Linked DNA regions of Homo sapiens: region 1 is linked to region 2. The links are contacts of gene promoters, found by promoter capture Hi-C in human tissues and cell types (Jung and others, 2019). All regions are on one chromosome and are shown on one strand. Each heading gives the region's core, a stretch centred on a gene start or on the middle of the fragment in contact. The rest is flanking DNA. Distances are from core to core; before and after follow the strand shown. Region 1 overlaps SYT14 (synaptotagmin 14). Region 2 holds the start of SYT14 (synaptotagmin 14).

What was found. The method cuts DNA at HindIII sites, captures the fragments that hold promoters and counts their contacts. A contact is called where the count stands out against the background at its distance.
Region 1: a fragment that was not itself captured here is called in contact with the fragment with the promoter of SYT14 in region 2 in 2 of the 25 tissues and cell types used here (H1 embryonic stem cells and heart right ventricle).

The regions. Positions count from the first base shown.
Region 1 is chr1:210,004,044-210,009,314 of GRCh38, forward strand. The region is part of intron 2 of SYT14 (synaptotagmin 14); the gene reads left to right. Among named protein-coding and RNA genes, the nearest start is that of SYT14, 68 kb to the left of the region's middle. The HindIII fragment of the contact is 3,378 bases long and covers 900-4,277 here.
Region 2 is chr1:209,936,225-209,941,271 of GRCh38, forward strand. It overlaps SYT14 (synaptotagmin 14), which reads left to right and starts at 1,993. Exons shown (of 9, transcript NM_001146262.4): 1 at 1,993-2,053. The coding sequence starts at 2,041. RefSeq lists a silencer at 1,440-1,734. The HindIII fragment of the contact is 7,833 bases long and covers 508-5,047 here.

The sequences.
Region 1 (5,271 bases), core at 1,339-3,838, 68 kb after region 2:
ATAGAATGATTAGTTTTCACCAGTTAGAAACATTATACTGCTGATTTCTGTTTGACTCGTATTATATTATTTTAATTTTTTTCCTGACACATTTTACTGAGCCAACATTTTCATTAACATTTATTAGTGTTTGGCTCCTAATGGTGTAGTAACCTTGAAATTATCCATATTGAATTTCACTTTGTTTTGATGTGTTATTTCTTTAATATATTGAGGTCCTTAGTGTATCTTTCTTTCTTTCAGAGAATTAGCAATCATGCCCTACCTAGTATTCCTAGGACCTTCTACAAAATTAATGAACATATTCTCAATTCCTTTATTCAGGTCATTGGTAAAGGTATTAAGTAACACGGGTTTATATATCTCCCAAAATACCTAACTAAGATGGATACCACTGAAAGACGTGTCATGGTATACCACCAAATTTTACATCTCTTAATTTCATCATACATCTCTTAATTTCATCATTTCATTGCTTATCTTTTCTCTTTTTGATTGACAAATTCTTTCTTCAGTTAATGTTGATTTGGTGGCTGGTGACCCTTGTAGCACTACTTCTTACTTTATAACACCTTACTTATTGAAAAGTAGCTCCTACTTCATTTTAATTATTTAAAATTTGTATTTCAATCTCTAAGGACAGGACTCAAACTGTTTCTCACATGATTCTGCTCCAAAACTGCGATGCTTGTTCAGAGGTTACTCAGCAAATCTATCAGCAGCTGAACTTAAAGGATTGTATCTTTTCTCAAAGCTTTTAGAGTAGTTTTTCTTTAAAATTTCAAATATATTTGCTTTTACTATATCTGATACAGATATCATATCAACAAAAAGGTAGAATGATATCATTTTGCAAATGGAGCTACACATTTTTTATTCTAGATGCATTGAGAATGCAAGTGAGTAGAACATTCCAGTTGCTATATTCAGGTGGGAGCACAGTATGATGTTGATGTTGAGCTCTTGTCATCACTAACTGAACTATGCCGGACTCATTTATTTAGTGGATAAGAAAACATGATATGCTGGTAAGGTTAGATGAAGCTTTGATTGCCTATGTATGTGTTCATACACAGTAAATCTATTGAACCATTCAATGTTTTCAGCAAAAGCTACTTCTCTTCAAAATGGATCAGGCTTAGTAGGGGAAAGATGGTTTTAGAGTGAGCAAACAATGTTTTGATCATTTCAAGAAGAGAACCAGGTGTCCTAATATTAAAATTTGAGAGGAAGATGGTGTCTCTCTGAGAGATTTGAATGAAACTGCTTGGTATTTATCAGAATTTTGATGGGTTTGAACTAAATCTTGAAATAAGCTTATCTAAAACTGTAGTTGACATCACAGATTGGCTTTAACCAGAATATTCCCCTGCAATTGGTGTTGAATTCAAAATCTTACTCATAGTAGCTCAGCATGAAGATCTTATTGAAAAGAAAGAAAGAATCATTGAAAAAGTAAAGGAGAGGAAGCAGTGACCTTAGATATTGTCCATGCCGTTTCTCATTTAGATAATTGTGAAGGAATCCATACACATTGAATAGGTAATGAAAAAAATTGAGACAATTCGTTGTTCAAAAGAATGACTATGCTTTGCTGTAGGGAGATTTGCCAGGAAAATAAGTTTTTCTTAGTCTAAAACTTCATTAGAATCATAATTCTAAAGCCTCAATCAAGACTGTCCTTGAAGAAAAGTCTCTGCCAGAGATTGATAGAGTTTTATATTAAGATTTGGTTTAAATATATGAAGTACATTAAGTATTATTAAGTAAGAAGTATATGGTTTAAATACACTTTATATTTGGTTTTCCATACTTAATAAAAGTTTGGGTTTTCTTTTTTTTCTAATTTCTTCAAGATTGATTTAGAGTTTTTTGTTATGATAGTCAAATGAAATTTCAATTTATTGCATGTACTTAGAGGGAATACAGGTTCAATCTATTCATGGCTTGAACTGTGAAACAAATTGGGTGGCATCTGTTTTATCAACCTGTCCAGGTAGGTAACTGTTTCTCTTAGAGGGCATTTTTTTTCCCTAAGATCTTAGTGTTTCACATCACTACCATCTATGCCTTCTTCCATTGTCCCTTTAAGTTACTCACCAGTGAATTGTGTTACTTCTATCAGTAAATGCTCTTTGTAATGATTGTTTTTTATAAAATCTGGAGTTAACAGCTAGCATTGTTACATTCTTTTTTTAATTTACATATATTCTTTCCAGTTTTGCATTGTTTATAATGTAATACGAAAATTTGAGGGAAATTTTATTTGTAAACTAATTGAAATGTTATAAAAGGAAACTGAAACATACTAACCTTCTGTTTTCCTAAATTATCTCTTAGAATTATGAATAATTCTCTATGTCCAAACCCAGAGCAAAATAAATTATAGCATTTTTCTGATTAAAATATGGAGAAAATATTTACAGCTAATTAAATGTAAAACAGGTATATCTTTTTCAATGAAAGTTGACTTTGATAGTTCACATTTTGGTCAAGAGATAGAATTGCATCTATTAAATGAATTATTAAAGTATCCATGACATGGAGTTAGAGGATTAGTGTTTCATGCCCAGCAGGACAAATCAGCAATACATCCCTTATAATGCAAATTGTAAGTTGTTACTTTTTATCTTTTTAAAAAAATAATTAGATAAAGCATAGGTACTTTTTGTTTAATTTTGCATTTAAGATATAATGAATAGAATAGTCTTACAAAATTTATTTTAGAAATTATAATTAATTTGTTTTGATAGAAATATTATTTAGAGTATTATTGTGGTCCAAGTAAATCAAAATAGAAAATGTGTTGGTTTAGTAGATAAATATCCCCCATATATTTAATTATTTTCATGTATATCCTAGCATTTTTCTTAGAAAAACATTTTCTTAGCTAGAAAATGTTCTTTTGTGACAAAATATAATGGAGAATTTAAGTGAATTCTGCAATACTTTCAAAGTCGAAATGTATTTGCTCTTGCTTTGACTTTAGTAAGACTGTAATTTTTTCATTTTTTTCAATGACCAACTTATCTGTAGAAATTAAAATGAATTTTACCACTGTTACTGAAGCTTAAATTTTAAAAAATTGGTATTTTTTAAGTTTATTTTTTGTAAATACATATATTTATTTCTAAATATAAAGATATAACTGCCAAAGCCAGTTCAGTATACATAACACAAATAATCATTAGTCTTGGAAAGACTAAACTTTCTACATTTTCTGGTGAGATATTGTACCTAGTGCCCCTTCTCACTTTGCAGTATGGTCTTTAGGGAATTCATATAGTGGACGATATAGCTCACAGAGAGCAGTTAATATTCTTTATTGAGCACTACTAATGAATATCAAGCTATTTTCTATAGAGTATCTTTAGTTTTTAAATTCATATTTGTTTTATTAGCTTTTCAAATGTGGCATATAAGGAAGTACCACATATTTTGGTTTTTAAACTTAATTCTAAAATTAATTTTAAAATATTTTGAATAGTAACTTGAATAGAAAAAAATTAGAATTCCAGTTTTAAAATTCATGTATTTATTTTGAGGAAGTTGAAATTGCTTGCTATTTTTTAACATATATAAGAGCTATAAATAAAATATTTGCACATAATATATATAGTGAGCTATGTTACTTTGGTCATATAGCTTTTTCTTATCTTTTATATGCAGGTTGGCATACAAGGAGCAGTATTACTTGGTGTTTAAGATCATGGATTCTGGAGTCAGAATGTCTGGATTCAAATCCAGGTTCTACCACTTCATAGATTTGTGAACTTGGACAACTTAATTATTCTCTGGACTTCAATTTATTAATCTAAAGACTAAGATAATATTATAGTACTTATCATAAATTGTCTTGAGTGTTAAATTTTAAAATGAAAGCAATTACAACAATATCTGGCAAATGGGAAGCTAAGAGATTAGCAGTTAACAGTTTGGGTTCAGGAGTCAGTGTGCTCAAGTTCAAATACAGACTGTGTCACTGAATAATAATTTTAAGATCTTGAAAGTTTTACTTACTCTTTGTGAACCTCAGTATCTATATCTGTAAAATATGGTTGCAGTGAGGATTAAATAAGATAATGCTTGTAAAGGACTTAAAACAGTCCCTGTTAAATAATAAGCACTTTTTAAGTGTTTGATATTGTTCAGGTTGTTATTAGTTGGTCTTGGTTTTGTTGTTTACCACATTAAAACTTTGCAAATTTGGATCATGGGAAAACTTGCATTAGTGAAATTTGAGTTATTGACTGTATTCAACAAATTTAATTCTTCAAATGTGTAATATTAAACTAATTATTGGCTGTGTGCTTTTAAATAGAATTTTTTTTTTTCTTTTTGAGATGGAATCTCGCTCTCGCTCAGGCTGGAATGCAGTGGCGCGATCTCAGCTCACTGCAGCCTCTGCCTCCTGGCTTCAGGCAATTCTCCTGCCTCAGCCTCCTGAGTAGCTGGGATTAGAGGTGCCCGCCACCACACCCGGCTAATTTTTGTAATTTTAGTAGAAATGGGGTTTGCCATGTTAGCCAGGCTGGTCTTGAACTTCTGACCTCAGGTGACCCACCTGCCTCAGCCTCCCAAAGTGCCGGGATTACAGGCGTGAGCCACCACACCTGGCCTAAATGAAGATTTTGAAGATCCTCCTTAAGAGGCATGTGTGTTTTAAATAGATTTACTTTCCTGCAGTGGGTGGCCTAGAATGCTTGAAAGAAGGTATAGGTATAGATAAATTACATTATCTTATACTTATGCAGAATGACTTTCTAAGCAGATTCATAGTATACAAAGATTTTAGGGGAAATTCTACTCCTATAATGAATAAGAATATATTTTTTATTAGGGAGGTATGAATCAGTGTAATTTTTTAATTGATGGTGTACAGCAGGGGTGTCCAATCTTTTGGCTTCCCTGGGCCACATGGGAAGAAGAATGGTCTTGGGCCACACATAAAATACCCTAACAATAGCTGATGAGCTAAAAACAAATTGTAAAAAATAACTCATAAGATTTTAACAAAGTTTACAAATTTGTGTTGGGCTGCATTCAAAGCCATCCTGAGCTGCATATGTCTGGCAGGCCATGAGTTGGACAAGCATGTTGTACAGTATTCATATCTTTAGTTTAATTTCAGTGTATATCCTATTGCAGTTTTATGTACAGGTGGGATTTACCAAATGTTTTTATACTCAGAACTGTTACTGGCTGACTTCTGGTATCATAATGTATTTGAAATAATAAATATTAGTTTAGTTCTCAGATAAGGATGAAAAA
Region 2 (5,047 bases), core at 743-3,242:
GGCAAGTGCTTGCAAAAGAGTTAGAAGGTAGACAAGAGGTGGATGTCTAGACAGTACAGTACCTTTGTAGTTACTACTTAACTCATTTATCCCTGAGGTTGCAATTTTTAGAATTTTTGCAATCAGACCTTGGCGATGACCTTGAGCAGCAGGATGTAAACAACTCCCGCGTGCTTAGCGTTCCAATAATGGAACACTAGGCATAAGTTAAGTTCTTTCTGTCCAACAACCTCCTTCTAGGAACTATCTTCCTTCTTCCCCAGTTCATCCACATGAGTCTCCTGGACAAATAAGTCTCCTGGACAAATAGTAGCGATGTTAATCTAGGTTATGGAAACTCACATAATCTGGTTATTTACTTAGTAACTATGTAATTGGTGAGGAAAGGATGAATACATTTTTCGGGCTTTCAATATGAAATTCTTTAAAAGTTTGAACAATTGGGTTACTCAGAACTAGCCAGAAACCACAACTTACAACTGTGGTGTCAAGTTCAGATCAATGTCTTGGAGTTCAAGACTGTTTTAAGGGAGGCTGCCTGGGGAAAATGTCATTAAACATTTTACCCGAATCCTCTAGATGTCCATCATAAACTCTCTCATGGAGCTTTCCTAAAGTATAGGCATTTTAATGTTTCCTGAGTAAAACAGTATTTTCTTTGATCCTTCAATAACAATTCTTGCTTGTAGCCAGTTTTCAGCACAGTGCCGGCTTCACAGATACTCACTGAACTAAAGAAAATGGTAAAGGATGAATGTCTATTGAGCATAAAATGCGACTGAGGGAGAGGTTATATAAAAGCAATGGAAGACAGTTTCTGCTCTAGATTTACAGTCCAACCTTACTTACATAAGTGTAAAATATTTTCTTCTTTGTTTCAGTCCCTAATATAGCTATTTTGCTCTAGGAATTAGCATTTCCTCCACAAGAGAGAATCACTAAACTCCCTATTTCTCAATGTTGTTTATGCCGTTGATTGTCCAGGTTCTCAAATTACTAAATGAAGTTGAGAGTTGGGTAAATGGTTGAGCGGTTCAAGTATCTTAAGTAAAAACTAAGTGGCCAATTGTTGTTGTGCTCAGGGTTGGCCTGGGACTGTTCACAATGGTCACAGGTTTACAAATTTTTAAAAACCTGCGTGTGACATGCTTTCCAGGTCCTTTGTCAAAACGTCCGTCTGACCCTGACTTTTGTGTGGCTTCAAATGTGCGTTTGCAATGTGTAGACAAATTCCAACTCAGAGTTCCAAGAGGTAAGCCAAGCTCTGTGTGGCAGCAAGGCTTATCAAGAGCGAGGCTAAGGGGTGAAGTGAGTGTGTGTGTGTGTGTGTGTGTGAGAGAGAGAGAGAGAGAGAGAGAGAGAGACCACTGCTGTGCTCAGGATTCCTCTCTCCTTTTTGCTTTTTGCCAACTAGCTGTTTCTCCACAGCGGAGATCTGAGACGAGTATGTGGCTGATTCGGGCAAAACAAAACAAAATAAAACCAAACGAAACCAAAACAGACTTACTATTACCAAATCTGAGAGTCAGTGGGTGGGAATCCTTTTCAACCAAGGAGACCTGTCCATGGTCCTGACCACATCATTTGCCACTCGCCTCCTTCATGGACACCGTTTGCTCCAAGTACCGGACGGGAGGGCGCCCGGCGCCAGGAAGCTTGGGCTTGGGCCCCCACACGAGCTCGGCGCGCTTCGGGCGGGTCTCGGGCGCGGGCCCGTGGCTCTCCGGGCCGGGCACCTGTTTCGAATCGAGGCGCGAGGCGCGGTGGGGCGGTGGGGTGGGGTGGGGTAGGTTGGGGTGGGGGCGGGGTGGCGTCACGTGCCAGCGGCGGCCCCGGGAAGGTTCCATTTCTTCCGCGGCCCGCACTCGCGGCGCTCGGGGCCCCTCCCTCGCCCCGCCCGCGGCGCCCCTCGCGGCCGCACAGCCGGGCGACTCCGGGCCGGGCCCCGCCCCTCTCGCTGGCGGACTCAGCGCGTCCTCCGCCAGCCCTCGCGTCTGCTGCCCCCGCCATCCAGTTGGTGCGGTCCATGGCGAGCGCATCATGGCGATTGAAGGTAAGTGGAGGCTGACAGCGGGGAGCGAGGACCGGGACCACCCAGCTGGCGGGGGGCTCGGAGGTGCGCCGGCAGGCCGAGGCGCTGACGGGGCCGCCTCCTGTGGTCTGGAGCCGGCTGAAGACGCGCGGGGGTCCTGGCCGCGTCTCGGGAGGCGGGTGGGCGGAGCGGCGCCGCTGGGACGCCGGGCCCGACTGGCTCGCTCGCCCCGGCCTTCGTGGTTTTGCCGGCCTCCCGGCGGCCGCACGCGGGGCAAAGCGGGCTGGCGGGCAGGTACAGCGTCCGGGCCGCCGCCTCCTGCCGGCCGCGCGGAGTGGAGGTCGGGGTGAGGCCCTGCAGACCCCACGGGACGGGCTGGGAGGAGCGAGGGGCCACGGGGGGCTCAGGCTGCCCTTTCTTTTCTTTCCCCGGCCGCGGCAAACCATCCTTCCGCAATACCCACCTTCCTGCCAAACTGAGAGTCCAGTTTTTTGTCCCATTCCTAACCCTTCCCTGTGCCCGCTCGGGCTGATGCTGGGTTACACTCTCTGCCCGTTCCCCTTCTGTTTGCTGTTGTAGGGGGTCCAGGAAATTTGGGGTTAGGTTAATTTCCTCCTCAAGTGGTTTTGTTCCCCGCCAACACTCAAAACTGTTTTTCTCCATGAAAAGAAGTAAATAACGTCTTTACAACAAGCACACATTCTTAGAATCCTGCAAATACCAGTCTATGAAGTGTTATAGTGCCACAATGCTCATATTTCGAAAAACAGCTTAATAAAAATTAAGTTCCTAGATAAGGTAGTTGACACTAAAGTGTATTTTTCTCTTGTTCCAGAAACATGTAACTGGGACCAAGTGTCTATATTTTGCCTTGTTTTTAAGGAAGAGATTGTGAGAATTAATTTCACACGTCTAGGATATTTATGTGAAAGATTACATCTTCCAGGCCCTGTCTCTTAGATTAACTCAAACAGTGAAAGTAATTTGTAAATTTTCCCTGTGTGTGTATATTCATCTGTGCAGCTGTGCAAGGTACCTATAGCTATATCATTATTTCTCTACATTGAAAGTGTGTTCCTAAGTAAAACTTTTTAAAGCGTTTCCCTTCTAAGTGATCAATCACTGGTAGTATGCATCTCTGGGGACTTCTTTTTGTCGGATCATGTGGACTCCAAAGTAGAGTTAGCTGTGTGTTTACATGTAGCTTATTTATTTAAGAGAGGGAGTACCTATTGTATGCAAGACACATTCAGACAGTTTCAAATGTCTGCTTGAGTTAAAATGGTGGGGAATAAGATCTACCTATAATCTATGATGTTCCTGTTATCTGCAGCAGTACTTTCAACATTTGTTTCCCTCACTGTCCTTTTACCAAAGGTTAAAAATCAAGAAACCAAACCCACTGATTTATGTTGTGTACTTTATTTTCCCAACTAGTTTGTGGTAGAGTTTCTTGTGAAGCCGTGAAACTCTACCACACTACCACACTACCACACCACGTGAAAGTAGAAAGGTTTAGGCAGAGCATGAGGAAAATCCTTCAGGCAGATGCCATTCGGATATGATGCTATAACTTGTAATTTCTTAAAATCTTTTCAGTTTTTTCCGTTTTTTCTTAGTTCTTCCTTTCTTTCTACTGGCAGTTAAGTGTTACTGATTCATTTTCCATGTCACCTGATGGCATTTTACTCTGCCTACTGCTTAACATGTTTGAAGAATAAGATTTTTTAAATCCTCACATTCTAGAGATTCTTCTGTGTTTGAGATACTCTCATAAATATTTTCATACTGAAGCATTTGCTTAAGTTTTCATAATACAAAGATCAGGAATTATATCTTTTCTAGTTTGGCAAAGAAACTGTAATTAATATTAGCACTTCAGATAAAGATGGCAGTTCGAATTAGCCTAACTGTGCTCCTTATCACATAGTAAAATAGATTCATTATGCACACCCTTCCTAGGCTGTGTTATGAAGTAGAATGAGTTCTGCATGAGACTCTGTACTAAGGACATCTTAAAAATTTAGGGGCCCAAAAGGGCGTCTCATCTTTTCAGTAAAGTGTTTCTTAAAACATTCAGTTTCTTCATTCACCTATTAATTCAGTAGACCTTTTTTTTTTTTGTACAATAGCTGTATACAATGTTCATTGCTAGATTCCATGGGGCCAAAAAGATAAGTAAGACTATAACCCTTCTCTCAAAGAGTTCATGTTCTATTCGGAGAGACAGATAATTTTAAACATGCAATTACAGTGTAGTGTGAATGCTAAGAGATGGATCATCTTTCCTTTGTATAAAAACATTCAATGATGATGGGTCTAACACTGTTTTTTGGCAGTAATTCTTATATTCATAAGGTCTTTGTATTTGGCCGAATATCTGCCATTCAGTAACGTCTGTCTACCCATCCTAGTTTTGCTTTCTGTAGCAATAAATTAAAAGCCCACTATTCTCTCTATATATGATATCCCTTCTGCCATTTGAAGACAGCTCTAGAGTGTTTTCTAGATAAAATATCCACTTCCCTCCTCTGGATGATCTGTAGTTGTATGTTTTAAAATTTGGAATATAGTAGTGGGCCATTTCATTCCAGTTATACTGTTGAATAGCATACATCAAAACTGTTATACCACTCCTTCACTTATGTGTAATCCTATTAATATAGCTTAACATTAGAATAGGTTTTTTTGGAGCTTCATGTTGGCACAGAGCGAGGCTGTAATCAACTAAAACCACAGTCTCTTTTAGCTTGACTACTCCCTTGCTTAGCTAACCAATGTTTTGAACTGAACAGATCGTTTATATCTGTTAAGCATACTCTTATTAGCTATGGCCCAGTGTTTTAGCCCTTGAGTCTAGACTTTTAAGTACTAAGGATTGTTTTCATTTTCTTCTCTGTGTAAACCTATTTTATAACACAAAATTATTTCTACTAAGTAATCATTCATTTCCTCCTTTTATCAGTCAGATGTGTAACTATTAATCAAAAAAAGAGACAAATATAAGATGATAGA